Linked DNA regions of Homo sapiens: all the other regions are linked to region 1. The links are contacts of gene promoters, found by promoter capture Hi-C in blood cells and fetal thymus (Javierre and others, 2016). All regions are on one chromosome and are shown on one strand. The core of a region is centred on a gene start or on the middle of the fragment in contact, and the rest is flanking DNA. Distances in the headings are between cores, read along the strand shown. Region 1 holds the start of DCUN1D5 (defective in cullin neddylation 1 domain containing 5). Region 2 holds the start of NPAT (nuclear protein, coactivator of histone transcription). Region 3 holds the start of CWC15 (CWC15 spliceosome associated protein).

Region 1 (3,042 bases), core at 177-2,676:
TGTTTAAACTGTTTGTGTGAGTCAAATTCAAATAAGAACTGCATACTGAAAATGATTGACATATCCTTTAAGTCTTTTAATTTCCTTCTCTCTCCTCTCGTCCTAATAATTTGTTGCAGAATTTGGGTCATTGTCCTGTAGACTTTTCTGACGTCTAGATATTGCTGATTGCATTGGGTATTTAACATGTTCCTCTGTCCTGTACTTTTTGTAGATGGTAGTTCTATTTAGAGACTTTATCTGATTCTGTTTTGATTTTGGCCTCAGGCATTTTTAAATGGGTTGAAGGATCATATACTTTGACATTCTTTTGGTTTTAAGTAACAGAGAATTGAACTAAATATGCAAAATAGTGAAATTTGTTGCTTCACATAAGTGAAAATTCCAGGGCATATCATGGATTTTGGGCTCATATCATATAATCACATCCTGGTTTTTCTATTTTTCTGCTTGATACTAGTCTCTTCTGAGTTTTGGCTTCATTCTCCATACCTTCTCTGGTTCAAATCCATAGGAAATAAAATTGCTTTCTGGTGGTTCAATTTTGTGTCATTGGCACTCATTGGCCTGGCCTGAGTATGTGTCCATCCTGAACCAATTAATAACACTAAGGAAATATGATATTCGGATTGACCAGATTAGGGTGCCATTGTGAGGGTAGTTTCACAGGAACCACTTCAACTATTACTCAAAGACTTTTAGTCTTCTCCCATCACAGTTGGTTTGCAGAGATTATTTTACCAACAGAATTACTAACGACTTTCTACTATGTCTTTACATACAATAACCATTATTTAAAAACAGTATTTCCACCTAAGTGGAGATGAATAGATTACAGTGTGTTTTGGGTCTAGGGGGAGGTTCCTTAGAACTGTCCCCCAAATTTCTCTCTACTGAGTCGCAGTCACCTACTGTCTCTTATCGGAGAGGTGAGCTCTGTGGAAATAATGGCAGAGCTAAGTTTCAATACAGGACAAAGTGATATGCAAAGGTAGGGAGAAGGGGGAGTGGGTGGCTGATCACAGGCCCATAAAAAAAACACGCAAGACACAGGGTGACAATGCATTTACGGGGTGGGAACACTTCAGGTGAGGTTATCGTGTGGAAGAGCTCAGAAGTGGAACTTGGTCTACTTTACCAGGTTGTTTTTAACGTCAACTGCAAAGTATTAGTAGTTTCACTTTTTGGCGGTGACTGCCAGCATCAGAGCGCGGTAGAAGCTTCATGAGAAAGGTCAGGATACCCTGGACAGGATACAAGAATTCCGCGGACTGCCGCAGTCGACGGGTCAGACAGCTTCGCTCTGCCTGGCCTACCTACGAGTGGCAGAGGCTAACCGGAACCACGCCCCTTCCCGGGACCGGCTCCGCGATTGCGTCACTTCCGGGCCTCAGCGATTCGCCTCCGGGTTAGGCTGAGCCTCTTGCTTGCTGTGACTGGTGGAGCTGCCGCGCTGTCCGCGTTATCTCCTCCCGGTGAGAACGAACCGCAGTGTCCACCGGCGAGGAGCCAGCCCTGTCCCGGTCAGAGAAAGACGACGAGGATACCTGGGAGCGGGCGGCGGCCGGGCTGGGCCGCGCCGGTGCGGGCTGGCGACTCTGCTCCTCCGCTTGCTGCTGTCTCTGGGAACTGGGTGCCAGCGCTGAGGGGCTTCCAGCGGACAGGGACCCCCTTCCCCGGCTCCCCTGCCCACCCTGCCGGGGAGGGCGGAAGATGCCGGTGAAGAAGAAGAGAAAATCCCCTGGGGTGGCAGCAGCAGTAGCGGAAGACGGAGGCCTCAAAAAGTGTAAAATCTCCAGGTACCATCTCCCCCCACCCTTCAAGCTTCCCTCCTCCCTCCTTTGCTGGACAACTGGAGGAAAAGGAGTCGGGCCCGGCCTGCCGGGCTGGGGCTGGAGACAGGTGAGGCCCCTTTGATCGAGCTAGGCTGTAGGTGCCGAACACCGCGAGTCTCCGCGCCCGACCCGACCTCGTGTTCGAGTGTGTGCACGCTGGCGTTTATGGAGAGACTAGAAGAGCCGCCCACGTTAAGAGTCTACGTGCCCTGCAGGGTGGGGAACAGATGCATATGTAAATTGCGCTTCCCCCCACCCCCACCCCCACCCCACAACCGACCCTCGATCCCCTACTCCCGTATCGCTCCTCTGCCTTTTTCTAGACTTAGAAGTGAGTACATATCCGCAGAAGGGTCACTTCTAGAATTTCTTTGTAGAGTGTGAAGAAAGCAGAACATAAGGAATCTTGACAACTGTCTTGGGAATGGTAGAAAGGAAAACTTGTATGCTATAATTGGCCTCCATATTTAGTATTTGGAGTGGCCTAACCCGGAAGGTCCCAGCAGGAGGCCTTTTAAATTGCAGGAGCCCCATTTTCTGGAAGTATAGTGCCTCACCTATGCCAAGTCCCTGTGTGCAGAGTTGGAAAGGCCCTGCATGCTTTTTGTCTTCTAGCATTCAGGACGCTGTTAGCTCTCAGCATAAATTAAATAATTTGTGAGCTCTTGTACTCTGTCCTACTGGTAAGAAAGAAGACAAGGCAGAACTATATAGTAGTAGCTCTTTGATCCCCTTGTAGCATATCATGGAGGCATCACAGCAAAATTTATGCTACAAAAAAACTGCAATTTTGGTTTGAGAAATGGTTTTTTTGTTTTTTTGTTTTGTTTTGTTTTTCTGAGACGGAGTCTTCCACTGTTGTCCAGGCTGGAGTGCAGTGGCGCGATCTCCGCTTACTGCAACCTCCGCCTCCCGGGTTCAAGCGATTCTCCTGCCTCAGCCTCCTGAGTAGCTGGGATTATAGGCGCCCGCCACCACGCCCTGCTAATTTTTTGTATTTTTAGTAGAGACGGGGTTTCACTATGTTGACTAGGCTGGTCTTGAACTCCTGACCTCGCGATCCGCCCGCCTCGGCCTCCCAAAGTGCTGGGATTACAGGAGTGAGCCACCTCGCCCGACTGAGAAATGCTTTTTTAAAAAATAACCATATTAGCTGCCTTTTCATCAATGGTTGGCACTTGATATGACAACTTCAGATGCTACTATT
Region 2 (2,700 bases), core at 1-2,500, 5.1 Mb before region 1:
GCGGCTCGCCCTTCGGCTCGGGCTCCGGGGCTCTCACCCACCCTCTTCGCCCTCGTCGTCCTCCCCGCCCTCCTCATCCCCGCCCCTCCAAGTCTGAGGACGGAAGTGACGACAGTTCCGAAGGCGAACGGAGGCGGGTTTCATTTCGGCGCCTTTCTTTCTCTGGCGGAAGCGATTGGCTGCCGTGAAGCGAAAGAGGCGGGACAAATTGCCGCGAGTTCAGTGCCGCCACTGGAACCAGGAGATGCGGCGCAGGAGCTGTCGCTGTGTTTGCTTTAACCTGAGTCTTGTTCCTTATTGTGGTTCCTGCTGTGGTTTTGATCATGTTGTTACCCTCGGACGTAGCCCGGCTTGTATTGGGTAAGCGCGGACGCGGGATGGAGGGTTATTGGACCCGGCTATGCTGGACAGAAGGACCTTTGAGGCCAAAGGTTTTCCCTTGGTAGGGAAGCTTTGGGGTTTTGCCTCCCAGCTTACGAGTTGAGACTGGCGGTGATTCTTCGTCATTCGGAGGTTCTGGGCAGTTTAAGCCTCTTTGTATGTAGATGCTCCTCTCTTCAGAGGCTGCGTGGCGAGGGGAAGCCCGAGGGGAAGCTCGGGGTGGAACACCTGGGGCGGATTCGGAAGGAAAGTCAGGCCTCCACACTTAATTAGGACCCCTGAAAGAGCATTTGTCTGCATGACGGACGGATTGCGTGTGCTTCAACCTTGGGCGCAATTTCCTTGGTTCAGTGTTGGGACCAAAATAGGGCAAATAGGGAGTTCCCCGGCCCCCCATCTTTGTAGAGAGACCTTCCTGGCGCCCTTCTAATAACCCGCCCTTATAACTACGAATTTGGGAGTAGGGGTGATCTTCCTTCTCCATCCTCCACGCAATACGTCGTCCAGTGTAGAGGTGTGAAATGCCAGTTGCATATTTTAAAACAGCAATTCCTGTTCCTTTGATCAGCGAAAAATTTCAGAGGGTTAATTGCCTTAAATTAGTTGAACGTTTTCTAGCCCTAGTTTTACCTTCATTTGAGGAGGGATTGTTTGTGGGTCACTTGTCTGTCAGGGTGTATTGTCTGTGTGAGAGACGGGTTTTGTTGTTGTTTGTCCCCTGAAAGAATAAAGAGGATTGTACTACAGGGGACGAGAGCCAGGTAAAGCTCAAAACCCGAGCCAGTAATTTACGGACGTCGTATGCGACGTCCCTAAAAGTAAATGGCAAGCATCTGTGATGAAACCTCCCATAGTATTCACAGCCATTACTACTATTATTTTATTGTTCGGAAAACCCATTTGTCTTGTGCCTCTTTTAAATGCCCAGCGCTGTCCACAAAAATGTTATTTGCGCAGGGCTCTTGATAAGCACATTTTGCAGGAAACGTTAAACGGAAATGGTTCCACCATCCATTTTTGAAGAAACTTAATGACAAGTTTAATGTTTTGTTAATGTCTGATTAATCTTTTGCTTAAGAATTCTGAGTTTTGGCAGTTTGGTAATCTAGTTGAGTTTCGGTAACTATAGTCTTAAACATGGTTTCTCAGCCTCAGTACTGTTAACATTTTGGGCCTCATAATTCTTTATTGTGGGGAGCTATCCTGTGCTCAAACATTGTAGGATGTTTAGCAGCATTCCTGGCTTCTATTCACTAGATTACAGTAGGACACCCGTTCCCCACCCTACCCTTACCCAGTTGTGATCAGTGAAAATGTCTCTAGATATTGCTAGTATGTCCCCTGGAGGGCAGAATCACCCCTAGTTAAGAAAGCCCTAAGAAAGCAGTATCATTTTCTAATTGAAATAATTCACATCGATGTGTGAGTATTCTTTCTCCACAAACCAGCTACTCTGCTGACTTCCTGCTTTTCATTTAATGGACAAAAAACGCCAGCCATGGTTTTCTTATCTTAAAAATCTTTGTCATTCACATTCCATTTTCACTGCCACCAATCCCGCAATGTGCCTGCCATTACTTCTCTTTTGGACTTCTGTCATGGCTTCCCAGACAGTTGTCCTCGCAATTCATTTTATTTACTGTTGTTACAAATCTCCCTGAAGCTTTCACACTATACCTTTTAGTCTGAAAGTTGAGATAATTCTATTCTTACTAAAAATTTCAGATGGGCAGGAGTATACAATACAAAAAAGCCTCCCCATGCCTAATGCTCTTACTTTTGTCGTTTATCATTTTACATCTTAAATAGATACATATCGTGTATATCTTTCTCATATGAGGTTTATTATTTACTCATGATTCTTTTCCTATCAGTACCCCCTCGCCATCTTCAGCTCCTCTTGTTATTGGTCCCTTCATAATGTTTTTTTTCTAGCAAATCTTTGGGTGCCTAGTATGTTCCAAACACTGTGCCAATTGCTGAACATAGAGAAGTTAAGTTTTCTCCCCTTAGTGTTCAGATAATTAGGTTTTTTTTAAATTCTTAAACATACACACAAAAAAACACTTTTCTGGACCCCACTAGACATTAGACACCCATTAAACAGAACATTCTGTCTTATGTTCTGTGTCACCCTTTCACAAGTCAAATTTATTCAAAGAACAATGAATTCCACTTAGTTGCTGTTCTTCACCTACCTTTTATCCTTCAGGATACTGCACTCTGACTTTTGCATCTCACTACTCCACTTAAGTAGCCCTTATTGCCTTGCTGGGATTTTACAAAATGTTGTGTGGGCCAGAATACATCAAAGTGTTT
Region 3 (2,700 bases), core at 56-2,555, 8.1 Mb after region 1:
CGCAGGAAGATATAATAGGAAGCAATTACAATCCAGGTAGGAGATGGTGTTGGCAAAGGCAAGGGTAGTGGCAGTAGAATAAAATTGCGGGTGAGTTTTAAAAGTAGAATTGTTAAGACCTGTAAATGAACCGTATGTGAAGAGTGAATGAAAAGGAATTTAAGTAGGCACTCCGGGATTTTGGTTTGAGTAACTAGCATGATGATCGCGTCTTTTAGTGAGACTTGTTAAGACTGGAGGAGGGATACCTTCGGTAAGAAAAATCAGGATTTTCATCTTGAACTCTATGACTGAAAGGGCTTTTTCTGCTTTTCTTTCTTCATTAAAAAGTTGCAAAGAATTTAGGGGTAAGAAAGCATTTAAATATTCAATTTTGTGAGTTCCTTACATTTTAAACTAAGTTGGGGAAGTTGAATTTTCATTTGTTTAACAAATATTAATTGAGCAGCTACTATACGTCAAGGTCTATGTGATGAGATACCAAGATGAGCTAAACAACCAAGATCTCTATTCTCAGAATTTGTTTTTATGGAAGGGAGGAGAGACGACTGGTAGGTTTTTGGTTTTCGGGTTTTCTACTTTTCGTTGTCTTATTAAAACTTAACACTTAAGTAGCCATCTTAATAATTACATCTTGTGCTCCTGGTAGTTGGGCCCACCATTGTAAACGCTCTCGTAAATACTGACATCTCCCCTCCCACTAAAACTAACGTTTTTTAAATAAGAAATTTTAGCAAACATTACGAATACAACCTTTGCTTTGAAGTGTTAATATTTTTGCAGGAATGGTACCTTTGTAAAGATCGTGGTTGCCCCGTACATATTTGTTCTTTCTTCATATCCAATTAAATGAAAACACTAGTTTTTCCGAAGCCCAACTCTCTAGGTTTGTTGGTTCTAGCTCAGGAGAAAGGATGGAAGCAGGAGTCGTTGGATTTAAACAGTTTGGTGTAATCCTTTTCCACGCTCTCTCCCGCTAGCCGGGGACGTGGTGTCGGCTACCCGGGGCTTTCCGTCCACGCAGTACCGGAATGAAGGAGTCTGGGAGGGGGTCGGGGACGGAAAAGACGGAAGAGACATTAAGTAATTGGTTCTTGAAGGTATAAAATGAGGTTTAGGGTCTACTCTAAGGCACTGATTTCAAACGCCCGCCCCCTGGGCCGCTTCGGCCCCGCCCCTTAGTGCCGTTACGCCGACTTCCACTTCGGCCACTGCGGATTGGTCGTTGCTTCCGCCCCCGAAGCGCTTGGATTTTGCTTCCGGGTCGTAGGCGCTAGCTCTGGGCGCAGAGGTTTCTGGGAGCCAAGAGTGGTAATGGCGTCTGTATGATCTTCGGAGCCTGCTGCATCGGACCTCGGCCAGTGTGAGCGGCAAGAGGATAGGAGATTATCTTTCTTATCGCGATGGGACGGGAAAGGGCAGTTGGGGTCGGAGTCGGCGGCAGAGTGCAGAGCGCGGGCGGTGGAGGCCCTGGAGCAGCGGGCTAGGGGCGGAACCGAGTGCCTGTCAGGCGCGTCTGGAGCTCTTGGGCCCGCCGAGGAGATCGCAGCGTACAGGCAGCTCGCCTACTGCGTAAAGCGAACCCCAGGTCCTCCCTTCACTACCCTTCGCACCCCTGCAGTGCTGGGCACGGGTGAAGAGGCAGCGAGTTTCTGGTTATAGCCAAAGACTAGCTCACGGGAGGCCGGAGTGATAATTCCGTGGGTGTGTGGGAAGGGGCGGCGCCCCCAGCGCCAGATAACCCTGTTTTCTTCTTTGTATACATGTCTCTACCCTTTTTGAAAGTTGAGAGAATTAGCATCGCCCCCCCCCCAAAAAATCCTCCCAATTCGCCCACCCTCCCCACACACTTGCTTTTCCGACACTAACAGGGTTTTAGTGACTGCATCTGCTGCACAGTATTCTTGTGACTGCTCCAAGCAGAAAGTAACTTGAGGAATGAGTCCCTGATTTTTGGCATCAGAATCCTCTGGGGGTGAGGTTCCTGTTTTTTTTGAACAGGCCTTAAATTATAACCCACAAACGATCTAATTTATAGTATGATGCCTGTTGTAGGAGAAAATTGGCTCAACAAACGGTTGTTTAAGAATTTTTTTCTGTGTAACTGTCATTGAAGTTTAACACACTTTTCTCTGGGACATTTAGTAACTTTGTCAGTGATATTTTTTGTTTGTTTTTAGCTTTTGTTTCTACTAGCCTATTTGCTATTGTGTGAAGTTTAGATAAAATGCAAACCTTACAGAGTCTGGTAGAGTAAGGTTGAGTTGGAAATTTTTAAAACTCAGTCATGGCAGTACTGTATTTTACTAGGGTTTTGACATGTCAAGTGTCATAATTCTTATAATCTATGAGGAATATCTCCATTCCACAGATGACAAAGTTAAGCCAGGTGACTTGCTCAAGCCCATATAGTCAGAAGGAGAATAGGGATGCAAACTCAGATCTTCATGACAGAATTTTTTGTACTAAGGCAAGCCTGAGAAGCCATATTCCTTGTACAGCCTAAGCCTCATAATTTGTTTTCTTGAAAACTTTTGTTTAAGAAGATTAAGCAGGTTTTGGGGAATGAGTTTTAGAACTTATTTTACCAGTATGGATATTGATTAATACTCTATAAAATGAGTGTTTGTAATGTTGGAAATAACTTGATTATATTTTTCTTCAAAGCATAAAAGATGACAACAGCAGCCAGGCCAACCT

Evidence for each region. Contacts are between HindIII fragments. The CHiCAGO score rates a contact against its expected background, and 5 or more counts as called.
Region 2: a contact is called between a fragment that was not itself captured here and the fragment with the promoter of DCUN1D5 in region 1, in 1 of 17 cell types (fetal thymus). The highest score is 10.4, in fetal thymus.
Region 3: the fragment with the promoter of CWC15 here is called in contact with the fragment with the promoter of DCUN1D5 in region 1 in 1 of 17 cell types (total B cells); the score reaches 7.8 in total B cells.

The regions. Positions count from the first base shown.
Region 1 is chr11:103,090,544-103,093,585 of GRCh38, reverse strand. DCUN1D5 (defective in cullin neddylation 1 domain containing 5) reads left to right here and starts at 1,426. Exons shown (of 8, transcript NM_032299.4): 1 at 1,426-1,799. The coding sequence starts at 1,714. RefSeq lists enhancers at 972-1,021, 1,092-1,141, 1,071-1,688, 1,689-2,306 and a silencer at 1,832-2,126. The HindIII fragment of the contact is 604 bases long and covers 1,223-1,826 here.
Region 2 is chr11:108,220,160-108,222,859 of GRCh38, reverse strand. It overlaps NPAT (nuclear protein, coactivator of histone transcription), which reads left to right and starts at 222. Exons shown (of 18, transcript NM_002519.3): 1 at 222-360. The coding sequence starts at 324. RefSeq lists an enhancer at 267-326. The HindIII fragment of the contact is 1,593 bases long and covers 454-2,046 here.
Region 3 is chr11:94,972,161-94,974,860 of GRCh38, reverse strand. It overlaps CWC15 (CWC15 spliceosome associated protein), which reads left to right and starts at 1,305. Exons shown (of 7, transcript NM_016403.4): 1 at 1,305-1,363; 2 at 2,668-2,700. The coding sequence starts at 2,676. KDM4D (lysine demethylase 4D) reads right to left here and starts at 1,152. Exons shown (of 3, transcript NM_018039.3): 1 at 793-1,152. RefSeq lists enhancers at 899-1,048, 1,369-1,538, 1,253-2,028. The HindIII fragment of the contact is 9,854 bases long and covers 1-2,700 here.